Linked DNA regions of Homo sapiens: regions 1 and 2 are each linked to region 3. The links are contacts of gene promoters, found by promoter capture Hi-C in blood cells and fetal thymus (Javierre and others, 2016). All regions are on one chromosome and are shown on one strand. Each heading gives the region's core, a stretch centred on a gene start or on the middle of the fragment in contact. The rest is flanking DNA. Distances are from core to core; before and after follow the strand shown.

Region 1 (3,788 bases), core at 143-2,642, 1.7 Mb after region 3:
GAGAGAGATTTTATTTTAAAACCCCCATTCCCACTGCGGGAGGGAGCAGTGGTAGCAGGCATTGGGAAAAACTGTGTTTGAATCAGGAAGGAGGCATTCAGCTAGATGTGCGTATCCTTTCACACTTTCTGCTCTTCCACATTTGTTCCCTATCGTACCCTTAAGAATTATTACTGAAAAACTCCAAGGGCATGTGTTAAGATCACAGTGATTCCTAACATCAACTCTCCTTCTATGTTTTTTCCTCCCAAGGCTTTCCACTGGGTTGAATTTTAAATTTGAACAATGGTTCAAAGGCTGAGAGACAAACTGCTCATTACTGGAAAGAGTGCCAGGAATCCTGGGAAGCAGGCCTCCCTCCCCACCGGAGCACTGCACCTCATAGTAATGGCCTCTTTCATAGTCACGGAAAGGTTGGATCAGCGTTTCTTTTCATTCCTGTCTTTTTTCAGGGACTGCTGGGATAAAAGGAAGTCTAGAAGAATAAAAAATTCACAAACAGGAGAAGAATAAAATATTTAGGGCAAGAGATCAGAAATCCTTTGGTTATTCAGTGAACTGAACTAACTCTACTTTTTTTTAAAAAAGTACAAGGAAATAAATGTCCATCAAATGCCATATCACAGTGGGATTAGCCTGTCGACCCCATCACACAGGATCTGAGGCTAGGTTATCATGCCTAGTAAGTTGCAGTAAGAGAGACTCAGACTAACCCAGTGATAAGATGGAACAGTTTTATAATTATTAATTTCATTCCCAATATTTCTGACATCTTTATTCTGAGAAGCTTTCCACCAAAGTTGTCAAATGACCCATTTCCTCTCACTTCACACTCCCAAATCCAATCAGTGATGAGTAGAAGGAATGGAAAGGTTATTTGGTGCCATAAAGAAAACCCAGTCACCTTGGAGGAGCAATTCAGGCTTTCCATCATTAGTTCCCATCGCCAAGAACAAATGATGGTTTCTAAAAGGGAAGACAGGGTTAAAACAACATGGTTGAGAAGTACATACTAGGCCGGGGGCAGTGGCTCACGCCTGTAATCCCAGCACTTTGGGAGGCCAAGGCAGGTGGATCACCGGAGGTCAGGAGTTTGAGACCAGCCTGGTCAACATGGTGAAACCCCGTCTCTACTAAAAATACAAAAGTTAGCCAGACGTGGTGGTGCATGCCTGTAATCCCAGCACTTTGGGAGGCTGAAGCAGGACAATCGCTTGAACTAGGGAGGCAGAGGTTACAGTGAGCTGAGATCACACCACTGCACTCTAGCCTGGGTGACAGAGCAAGACTCTGTCTCAAAAAAAAAAATACATTACTAACATTTATCCCTTTATTCTCTTTTTTCCCACCACCACACCTGGCTAATTTTTATATTTTTAGTAGAGACAGGGTTTCACCATGTTGGCCAGGCTGGTCTTGAACTCCTGACCTCAGGTGATCCACCTGCCTCGGCCTCCCAAAGTGCTGGGATTACAGGTGTGAGCCACCGCGCCCAGACTTTATTCCCTATTAATGTGATCTTCTTGGAGTACTTGTTGGAAAGCACTTTAAACATCTGGCTTTTACGCAGCAGTCAGAAGGTTTTTTTACACCCCAGAGCTAAGGTTAATTTGATCAAGAGACTAGGTCCCTCCCAGAGTGGTGAAGAAGTGGTTAGGTACTAAAACCATGGCATCGTTTCTAGTCACACTGCATCTGATTTGGTTGTGTGATAGCCCTAGGTTGGCATTGGGAAGGCTCTTGTCCAGAACCTATCAATAAGCATGTTTTAAACATTCCATGCGCAATAATTCAAGCAAAAATAACTTTATGGGCTACTTTTTTCTTTACTCATCCACAGAAAGCATTTGTATGTCAACAAGAACTTTGCTCCTTGCCTGTTTTCACTTCAGCTTACTCCTCCCTGAAAATAGAGTTGTTTGATACAATTGGAAAAATCATCCGGTTGGTGTGAGACATTCACAGCAACAAAACTATGTTGGTAGAACAAAGCTTCCTGACTGCCAAGTGTCCAGAGAAAAAGAGGAATAAAAGAACCCAGCATTCACACATAGGACCACTTAAAAATAGATTCTCCATTCTCCTCTTTTCTTACAAATACACACAAATCTTTGACCACAGTGTATCTGATTTATACACAGAATTAACTTCTACATTAACAATAATTAACAGTTGCGTGCTTATTACATATGAGGTACTCTTCTAAGAGCATTAACTCATTAATTTTCACAACCCTATGAGACAGATCCAATTATCCCAATTTTACATTTGAAAAACCTGAGGCACAGAGAGATGAAGTAACTTGTCCAAGGACCCACAGCTAGGTGGCAGAGCCAAGATAGAAAAACCCAAGCAGGCCAGGTTGTGGTGGCTCATGCCTGTAATCCCAGCACTTTGGGAGGCTGAGGCAGGAGGATTGCTTGAGGCCAGGAGTTCAAGACGAACCTGGTCAACATAGCTCACTTTATATTTACTTTTTATAATTAAATAAATAAATAAATAAAGGAAGACACCAAGCAGCCTGGCTCCAGGGCCCATGCTCTAACTACTATACTATACTGCTTCTGCAACAAAAAAGAGAATGATCTTTTCTAATTCCTACAAAGCTTTATCCTCCTATCAAGTATGCCAATTTACATTCTTTAAGCAGACACATGGACCCAGGTTCATCTTAATGTAAAACCAAGGATCAACTTTAGTCTCATCCAAAACACATCAGCTCTCTTAAACACACCAAACGTTACCCCCTTTAAAACATAAAATACACTGAGATCGCTGTTCAAGCATCATACTTTCTAACAACAGGAAATGTTTGCAGAATTAAGGCCCTGGACACCTTCTTCAGTTTAAGCAGTCAGCACTTGATGGATCTTTTGTAGCTGTAACAGAATTTAAGTAGCTACTTTCTGAAAGAAAAAGTCAGTTTAACAAGACCCTAATTTGAGAATGTTTAATTCTATAAATACATTATTATGGCGACAGAGCATAAAGTACAAAGTTCCCTATGCTTAAGGAACCACTAATAGATTTGCCGAAATATCAAGGCACGAGGCACTGGCCTATTCAGCTAAAACAGAAGTTCGTATAATTGGGAGTTAAGGCCAAGACACCATTCATATGCCTCTTATGCTCGAAGGCTATGACCTTTAAACCTTTGTCTTTCTTCAATCTCTCCCATCTTTTAAATACCCTATATACTCGTAAGTTGTTAGAAACCAGTACCATCTTTTAAAGTCCTGGCAACTGTACCGTATTTTAATAAACACCATTCCCTAATTGATTTGCTTCTGAAATAGATTACTGAATACCTTTCAAACATTGAACATGAAGAGACAAAAAACTCTCTTAATGGCAGTGATTTTAGTAAAATCGATGGATGTTTTGGCTATCATCACCTAAGTGTCTACCATGACCAAACACTGATGTCACCATTTAAGTAACAAAACAAATCAGGAAGTTTTGCTAAATGAGAACTAAATTTGCCTAGCCCTCCTTCCTTATCTGGTTTGATGCAAACAATTTCCCTCTCAGCAATATATTTACTTTCTAGATGTAAGAGAAAAACTGAAAATTTACATCCTGACATCCACTGTGATGCAGAGGTGGACCTGACAATTTGGACAAGTCAGTCTCTTTCATCTTCCTATGTCAGTTCGAATGGGCTTTTAAGGTAAACTACTATCTAAACTTTTTTTTTTTCAATTACAAAGCTAAAAGATGACCCGTATTAATAGCTTAACAGGAAACAAAGTTTTGCTGAAAAACATTTTTGTGGATAAGCGGGGCTT
Region 2 (3,783 bases), core at 460-2,959, 2.0 Mb before region 3:
TAAGAATAAATTGAAATTAGATTATGAAACTTCATTATTTAAACAGCTTCCTTGGGTGCCATCAACAATTATCATTGAGTGCTTTATATAGCTAGATATTGTGGATATATACATGAAGATGTTATCTCTGGTCTTAAGGGAGATTATTCTCTTAATTTAAAAAAATGTTTACAATATTTATACACTGAAGAAAACCATTGCTTAAAAGAGAAATTGTTACTTAGCCTCTGTCCTAATTGTATCCTCATGGACTCTGCACTGAATATATTTTGCTTTTTAGTTTGCTGATTCATATTATTTAAAAATGTTTTAGGGCTCACTTAAGATTAAATAGCAGTTTCAGTTTTACAAGATGAAAAGTTCTGGAGATCTGTTGTGCAACAACGTAGATGAAATAGCAAATTCTGGAATTCAAAAAAAATTTTGCACATAAATTGTAATTTGAAAAGAGTTTAAGCATATTATCCTGAAACTTATCCCTTATAACCTTGTTTTTACATTTTAAAATATGTCAGCAGATTTTCTTCTATGATTACAACGTATAAAATGTAGTTGGGAAAGTTTGGCAGAGGACTAGCTTTAGTTCTGCTTAAAATATTTTTCAACTGATTCTGTGAATCCATTTTTTATCATATATTAACCAAATATCTTCATACACTAACATCATTGTTATCTATGAACATCTAAATATATGTAATTTATGCATTTTTAGTTTTAAAACATGTTTTATATTTGACAGTCCTCGTTCTCTTTTATATTGTAAATTTGGAGAGAGCACATTTTGAGTTCTTAATGTTTTTAGGATATGATTTTTTTTGGATACATTTCAACATTAAAAACACAGTTTCAAATTTATTTCTCAAGACCTCAGTCATTCCCTTAATGTTTTTTTTGTTTTTTGTTTTTTGTTTTTTTTTTTGAGACGGAGTTGTGCTCTGTCGCCCAGGCTGTGGAGTATAGCGGCACTATCTCAGCTCACTGCAGCCACCACCTCCCAGGTTCAAGTGATTCTCCTGCCTCAGCCTCCTGAGTAGCTGGGATTACAGGTGTGTGCCACCATGCCTGGCTAATTTTTGTATTTTTGGTAGAGATGGGGTTTCACCATGTTGGCCAGGCTGGTCTCGAACTTCTGACTTCAAGTGATCTGCCCACCTCTGCCTCCCAAAGTGTTGGGATTACAGGTGTGAGCCATTACACCCGTTCTGTTTTTTAATTAATTTTTTTTTGTCACCCACATGTCAACCCTTATTTCTTTCAAAATCATTTATCCCTGGTTAATTCAGTTTGGGCAAAGCATAATTTAACAAATCTAGGCTAATGATTTTGAGATGGCCAAGTGGTTCCATCCTATACCCTCAGACCTTAGCCATCTCATAAATGCGTACTGATGAATGCAGTTCCAAAGTTAAATAAAATAGCATATAGCTGGATAAGTTCAGTTTCTCACAATGAATAGGATCATCTCTTTATAAAGCATGGTATCTTTAATATCTTGTTCTTTTTAGGTAGAACAGTTATATCAATGGCAGAAAGTTATATCAATACATTTTTTCTAACTATAGAATACACTTAGTAGGTTTGTGACAGTGCAGGTACTGAGGGCAGCTTTCAGAGGACTTTCTGGCCTGTGCCTATTGGGACCTAACTGAGTAACTTTCTGCTACAATTAACTACTTAATAAGATTTAAGAGAGAAGGATTTCAGCTTCAAAGACTGGGAACTCTTGAAAGTAACATTGTCTTATATATTTCCAGTGGGACCATACGTGTCCACTGTAATATGTATTTTAAAATGTTCAACTATTTTACAATGTGAGTGACTCTTGCTGTGTACTTCTTCTATATTCAATCTGTGTGAGGTCTGTAACCCAAGATTTAGTCTAGAATTTACACTTCCTCTTTTCAAGTTCTCAACTAACATGACACAGTTCTAAAATATTAACGAGAATACAGTTGCCTTGTATTTGTTATTTGAAGTCAGTTGGAAATTTTTTTCCGGTCCCTACACTCAGAAACACTTTTAGCTTTCTGTAGGGTAAAAGTGTATAGGTTTTGGAGTTAGAAGGGCTTGAGTTCAAATCCTGTCTCAGCTATTTACAGGTTGGACCCTAAACAGGTTATTTAACCCATCTGAGCAGTGTCTTTCTATGTAAAATGAGAATAATTGCAAAGAGTTATTGTAGACTATAGATTTTTTTTTAAAGAACAGGAACCAATTTCTTTAATTTTTAATACATTCACCTTTTTTATATGTCTTGTGCCTGGTACATAAATGCTTAGCAAATTTTTTTGAAAGAACTGAATTGAATTCTTGTGAAGATGAAGTAAAATAATGTTTTTTTTTTTTTGCATTTGATCATTGTGATATATCTTTGTGTTTAAATGCAAAGAAATAATAAACTTAATTAAAAATACAAGTTTAAGGTGAATTTCAGGGCCTGTAAGTCATTTACTTTTTTGTAGTCAGTTGCCTACTATCCTAAAATATAAAATGCCTGGTACATGGCAGGCTTTTAATAAATGTTGAAAGTTTTTCCTCATTTCTCACTAGTTCTTTCTAATACTACTCTCCAGTCTGGTCTACAGTAGAACAATTCCTTTAACCTTCTTGCTTCCCAGGAAAGCAGTGGTGTTTTCCAAAGACAAGCAATATAGTATTATTAAGAGCAAGAACTCTGGACTTGGAGCAGGACACCCTGAGATGGCTCTGCCACCTCTCATCTGGGTTACAATGGGAAAGTTACCTAGTCTTCCTGAGCCTGTTTCTTCATCTCTGCAAAATGAAGACAATGGTTTGCCAGCCTCACAATGTTGTTAGAAGGATTAAGCAAGTTAATATAATGAAAGTGCTTAGAACTAATATCTGGCAAATAGGAAGCATGATGTAAGAATTTACTGCTGCTACTGATAACGACTACTACTATCATTATTATTTATTTCCTGCCTAAATTGAAATTGCCCTCCTAAAATCCACTTAGCCTGTAACTCAGAACTTGTTCTCCAGATAGTACATAGAACTTGCTTAAAGCGCATACATTCTTTCCTGTTCTTGGCATGTGCCCTTTGAACTTACTTTCTATTAATGTAATAGAAGGTTCTATTAATGCTATTTCTTAATAGAAATGTCCTGCCAGCTTTAGGTAGATTACTACAACTCTGCCATCTCTGGACTTAAATCTAGGGATTTTTGGGTTTTTAACACTTATTGGCATGACTATTAATAACGACTATGTTTGACAAATGTCTAGCCCCAGTCAGTCTGCAGTTTACCCACAGTGAATTGCACAGATGGCTTTCTCGTTTACCAAATGACATGAATTTGATGTTTATCTTAGCAGTTCTTGTGTGACCTTATTTAACCCCAGGCCACAGTCACTTTAGGGCTTCTGTTAGCATGTTTTGAGTATTTGTGTTCAGTTTAGTTTGCAGATTAATTTAGATGACAAAATGACATGTATTTGGGCCATCCAAATGTAGAACCTTTTTGGAGCTCCCAGTGTTTTTCCTGTCTGTGTTAGACAACTCAAACTGTTACAAGCAAAAACTATATTCTGGTAAGAGCCCTAAACATTAAAAATAAGCTTGGATAGAGTTGGTAAGCACAATTTCCTTTAGTAGAATCGTACCTAATAACCACTATTAAGCTTGATTTTGTGAAAGCAACAGTAGAATAGTCTTTATTAATCAAACCAAAGGAACTCTTTCAAAATGAACTTCCTGTGCATTTCTAGATTTATGTACATTTTTTTGGAGTGCCTCTCCCCTACCCCCCAATGTTTAAAAA
Region 3 (3,731 bases), core at 947-3,446:
ATTCTGTTATCTTCTTCCCCTGCTATTCCTCCTTTCGCCTTTATAATTTTTCCCTTCGTTACCTCTTATCTAGACAAATAGGCAAAACCCCAGGTCCACAGGGCCCAAGAAGGTTCAAGTGATAAGAGTCCTGAGAGCTTGAGTCAGCATTAAACACCTCCTAAATCCAACACTACTAGGCTGTTCAGGCTAAATAAAACTCCGTAGTCTTGTGCTTTTGCCTGCATTTATTTGATACTAAGGACGGTAACACTGATGTTCTTAGAATCATCAGAAGCTCAAATTGGCAGTTTTATATGTCTTTAATGGAAAGAAATAAAACTAATTACCACAAATGTAGTTTGATTAGTTCAAAAATTCAAAACAAGGGGCCGTTGGGAGTGTAGGATAGGGGTTAGGAATCACTGTCCTAATCCCTCTTCTCTTCTTCAATCCACACCAGCTGTCAGATTAATCTTCCAGTAACACCAGCATTTCTGGTCTTGTCTTTGTCCTGTTTAGAAAATGCCAGTAGGCTAAAGAACCAGCTCCCTGGGGTCTGGGTCTCTATTGAAATCTTCGTGCCTGCACTATACTTGCCCAGCTGAACAAACTGTTTGCTGTTCCTCCTATCTACCTTTCACTGTCTGTCTGCTTGCCTTTGTTCCTGTGGTTCTCTCACTTCAATCTCTTCGGTCTGATCAACTTTTAAAGCTCACTTTATCCATTCCAGCAGGTATAGCTTAAAAACAAAAACAAACAAAAACCAAAAAACCTCTCATTTTAAAAACCAGGGGATTTCCTGATACCCCAGCCGAAAATAATTTCTTAAACCTCAGAATTCCCCCAAACAGTGGCTTTTCATTAAAAACCTTACATCAGAGTTATTAAGCAGGGTGGTTTTGGCTCCTCTCCTAGACTGTCTGCCATCTGGGGGCAATGGCAGCTTGGAAAATTTCTTTGCACAGATAACTACACTACGTAAAAGTTTGCTGCCTTTGCAAACTTTGAAACGCCTACAGGAAGAAATGGGATAAAAACGACTTTGGCCGGGCGCGGTGGCTCAAGCCTGTAATCCCAGCACTTTGGGAGGCCGAGGTGGGCGGATCACCTGAGGTCAGGAGTTCGAGACCAGCCTGGCCAACATGGCCAAACCCCGTCTCTACTAAAAATACAAAATTAGCCGGGCGTGGTGGCGGGAGCCTGTAGTCCCAGCTACTCGGGAGGCTGAGGCAGGAGAATGGCGTGAACCTGGGAGGTGGAGCTTGCAGTGAGCCGAGATAGCGCCACTGCAGTCCGGCCTGGGCGACAAGAGCGAGACTCCGTCTCAAAAACAACAACAACAACAACAACAACAACAACAACAACAACAACAAAAGACTTTAACAGAGAATGATCAGTATTTTTAAGATTCAAGTTTTTAATAAACTTGGGAATGTTATGCTTTGAAGCATAACAGATAATTATCATTATTTTTAAGATTCAAGTTTTAGATAAACTTGGGAATGTTATGCTTTGAAGTTTTCAGAGCTCGTAGCTAAAGCGAATAGCTCAAATGTTCTCCAGCCTAAGGCTTAATGTGAATTTAGATTATTACTGAAACATTGGGAGGGGGTATTACTCTTGAAATCTTATACCTCCATCCACAGATAAGAACACTCAGTGCAAAGAATTAAAGCTGCCTAAGTCAAATTCTTTTTTAAATGGCAAAGTTGTTTTTTTAAGAGACAGAAAGTGAGGGCAGAATGTACCTCTGGGCAGAGAATATCTTGAGGGACAGGTACTCGGAGAAGAGGAGATACAAATAGGGATTTTTAAAAAAGCAGAAAACCACCAATTTCTCCTCAAGTGAAGGGGGGATGTATCAGGTTTAACTTTAAGCTCTCTTCTGCTCAATTGCTAACTCTATTTTGAGGAAAGGACCTTTGGAGACCCGGCAGATATGCTGTCTGCAAACAATCCGGGGGAGTAAGTTCTTCTGCCCCCGTCTGTCCCTACACTTTTCGCATTCACACCTTCCCCAGATCCGTTTCCCAGCGTATCTGCCTTCCCTCTTTCCTCCGGGTCCGTCAACGTCTCACCCACCCGCGAGTCAGGCCCCAGCGCCCCTCCGCCCGAACGCCCAGGTCGTCGGGCCGTCTGCGTCCGTCTGTCCTAGCCCGTGCCGTCGCGGGCCGCGCTCACCCAGGCCTCCGCTCTTGTCCGTGCAGCCGCTCCGCCCGGCAGCCGCCGCCGCGCTTTATATCCGCGGCCGCCCGGCTCGGGCCCACGTGCCGCCACGCCAGGGAGCCTGGGGGTTGTAGTTCTGCGCCGCCGCCCGCGAGGCGCGCCCGGAACCGCTGGCCCGGAAACCCCGAAACGTTTTGCACACTGGAGTCTGCTCTTCCCCGGGTGTCACCTGAACAACATGGGCTGAAGTGACTCCGGCGCAGCGCCCCGGCTCCCCGAGGATCGGAAGCATCCGAACTGGCGGCCGGGTGCCCGAGAGCACGCGGCTCACCCGCGCCACGCCGAGTGCAAACCTCCCCCTGCCTCGTCTGCACGCCAGTCCTTCCCGCGTGCGGGCACCTCCTGGGCTCCGCTGCGTCTTAATTTTCCTTCTCTTGCGCAGGGCTCTGCAATCCCCACTATCTCGTGGTTCTGCGTTGTGAGGTTTGGGCTGCTGTTTCCGAGGCGTACGGAGAATCCCAACTGCCCATCGGCGTTCAGGTCTCTTCGGGTTGACGCCGCTGCACCAGCCCTGCAGACTCTCGTGTTAAAGAGAGATGAGCGAATTTTAAAGTGAATTATCTACTCATACGGGAGCTTTCCTGGCTTCTTTTGGAGAACATTTGAAAGAGTTTTGAAAGGGAAAATTATTTTTAACCCAACCGCCTCTACTTTCAGGAGTATCAGGAGTCTTATTCTAGGATCATGTACTGTGTGAATAAATCAGGAACAGAGCCAGAGACAAGTCCTCAGTTTTCTCTTGCTGATGTGATTCCACCTCAATTTTCCATAAAAGGCGATGGCTGATGCTTATTATTACATTTAGAGAAACTAAATTGTTCAAAGGGCTTTCTAGTTTGCAAAGTGCTTTTAAATGTATTCTAATAGTTCTTTCGTTGCACAGAGCACCAGAGATAATAGCTAATAAGTACTGTGTTCAGTGCTTACTCAGCCTGCACCGTTCTAGCTGTTTTAACATTTAATTCATAAAATAATCCCATTGGTGGGTCCTGTTTTATAAATGTATATATTACAGATGAGCAAGGATCATTCCATTTTACAGATCAGAAACAGGTTTAAAGAGTTGAAGTAATTTGCCAAAAGCCATAGAGCTGGTTAAGCTGTGGTTTGATTTCAAGTAGTCCAGAAGCTTGTGCTTTTAACACTATGTTATCCTACAGGAAAAAAAAATACAAAAAGAAAAGAAAAAGAAAAACCCTTAGTTACATGAAGCAAGTTCTCCTAAGGCTGCAGCATGGTTTTTGTTTTGGTTTGGTTTTTGTAATATTAACAAGAATATTATATCCTAATGGTACAATGAAAGTTTTTTTTTTTTTTGGAAAGTCACAGTTTAATAAGTGCAAAATTAAGTATGTCAGTACCCAAAAGGTATAGGTCATTAGGCTTAACATTGTCAACCAACAAACCAATATTCTAAATGCATGAACTAACTACTTTTTGTATAAATATGGTAGTGCAAAGTAATTCCTTATAATAATTTGTTAGTGTCTACCAAGAAGCAGATGCTAAGATGGGATTAGATG

Evidence for each region. Contacts are between HindIII fragments. The CHiCAGO score rates a contact against its expected background, and 5 or more counts as called.
Region 1: a fragment that was not itself captured here is called in contact with the fragment with the promoter of NPL in region 3 in 1 of 17 cell types (M2 macrophages); the score reaches 6.9 in M2 macrophages.
Region 2: a fragment that was not itself captured here is called in contact with the fragment with the promoter of NPL in region 3 in 1 of 17 cell types (monocytes); the score reaches 5.5 in monocytes.

Annotation. Positions count from the first base shown.
Region 1 is chr1:181,091,168-181,094,955 of GRCh38, reverse strand. IER5 (immediate early response 5) reads right to left here. Exons shown (of 1, transcript NM_016545.5): 1 at 2,056-3,788. Among named protein-coding and RNA genes, the nearest start is that of IER5, 4.4 kb to the right of the region's middle. The HindIII fragment of the contact is 1,205 bases long and covers 790-1,994 here.
Region 2 is chr1:184,745,585-184,749,367 of GRCh38, reverse strand. All of the region lies in intron 2 of EDEM3 (ER degradation enhancing alpha-mannosidase like protein 3), which reads left to right. Among named protein-coding and RNA genes, the nearest start is that of EDEM3, 7.4 kb to the left of the region's middle. The HindIII fragment of the contact is 3,747 bases long and covers 1-3,582 here.
Region 3 is chr1:182,788,238-182,791,968 of GRCh38, reverse strand. NPL (N-acetylneuraminate pyruvate lyase) reads right to left here and starts at 2,196. Exons shown (of 13, transcript NM_030769.3): 1 at 2,164-2,196. RefSeq lists an enhancer at 2,043-2,543. The HindIII fragment of the contact is 6,627 bases long and covers 1-3,339 here.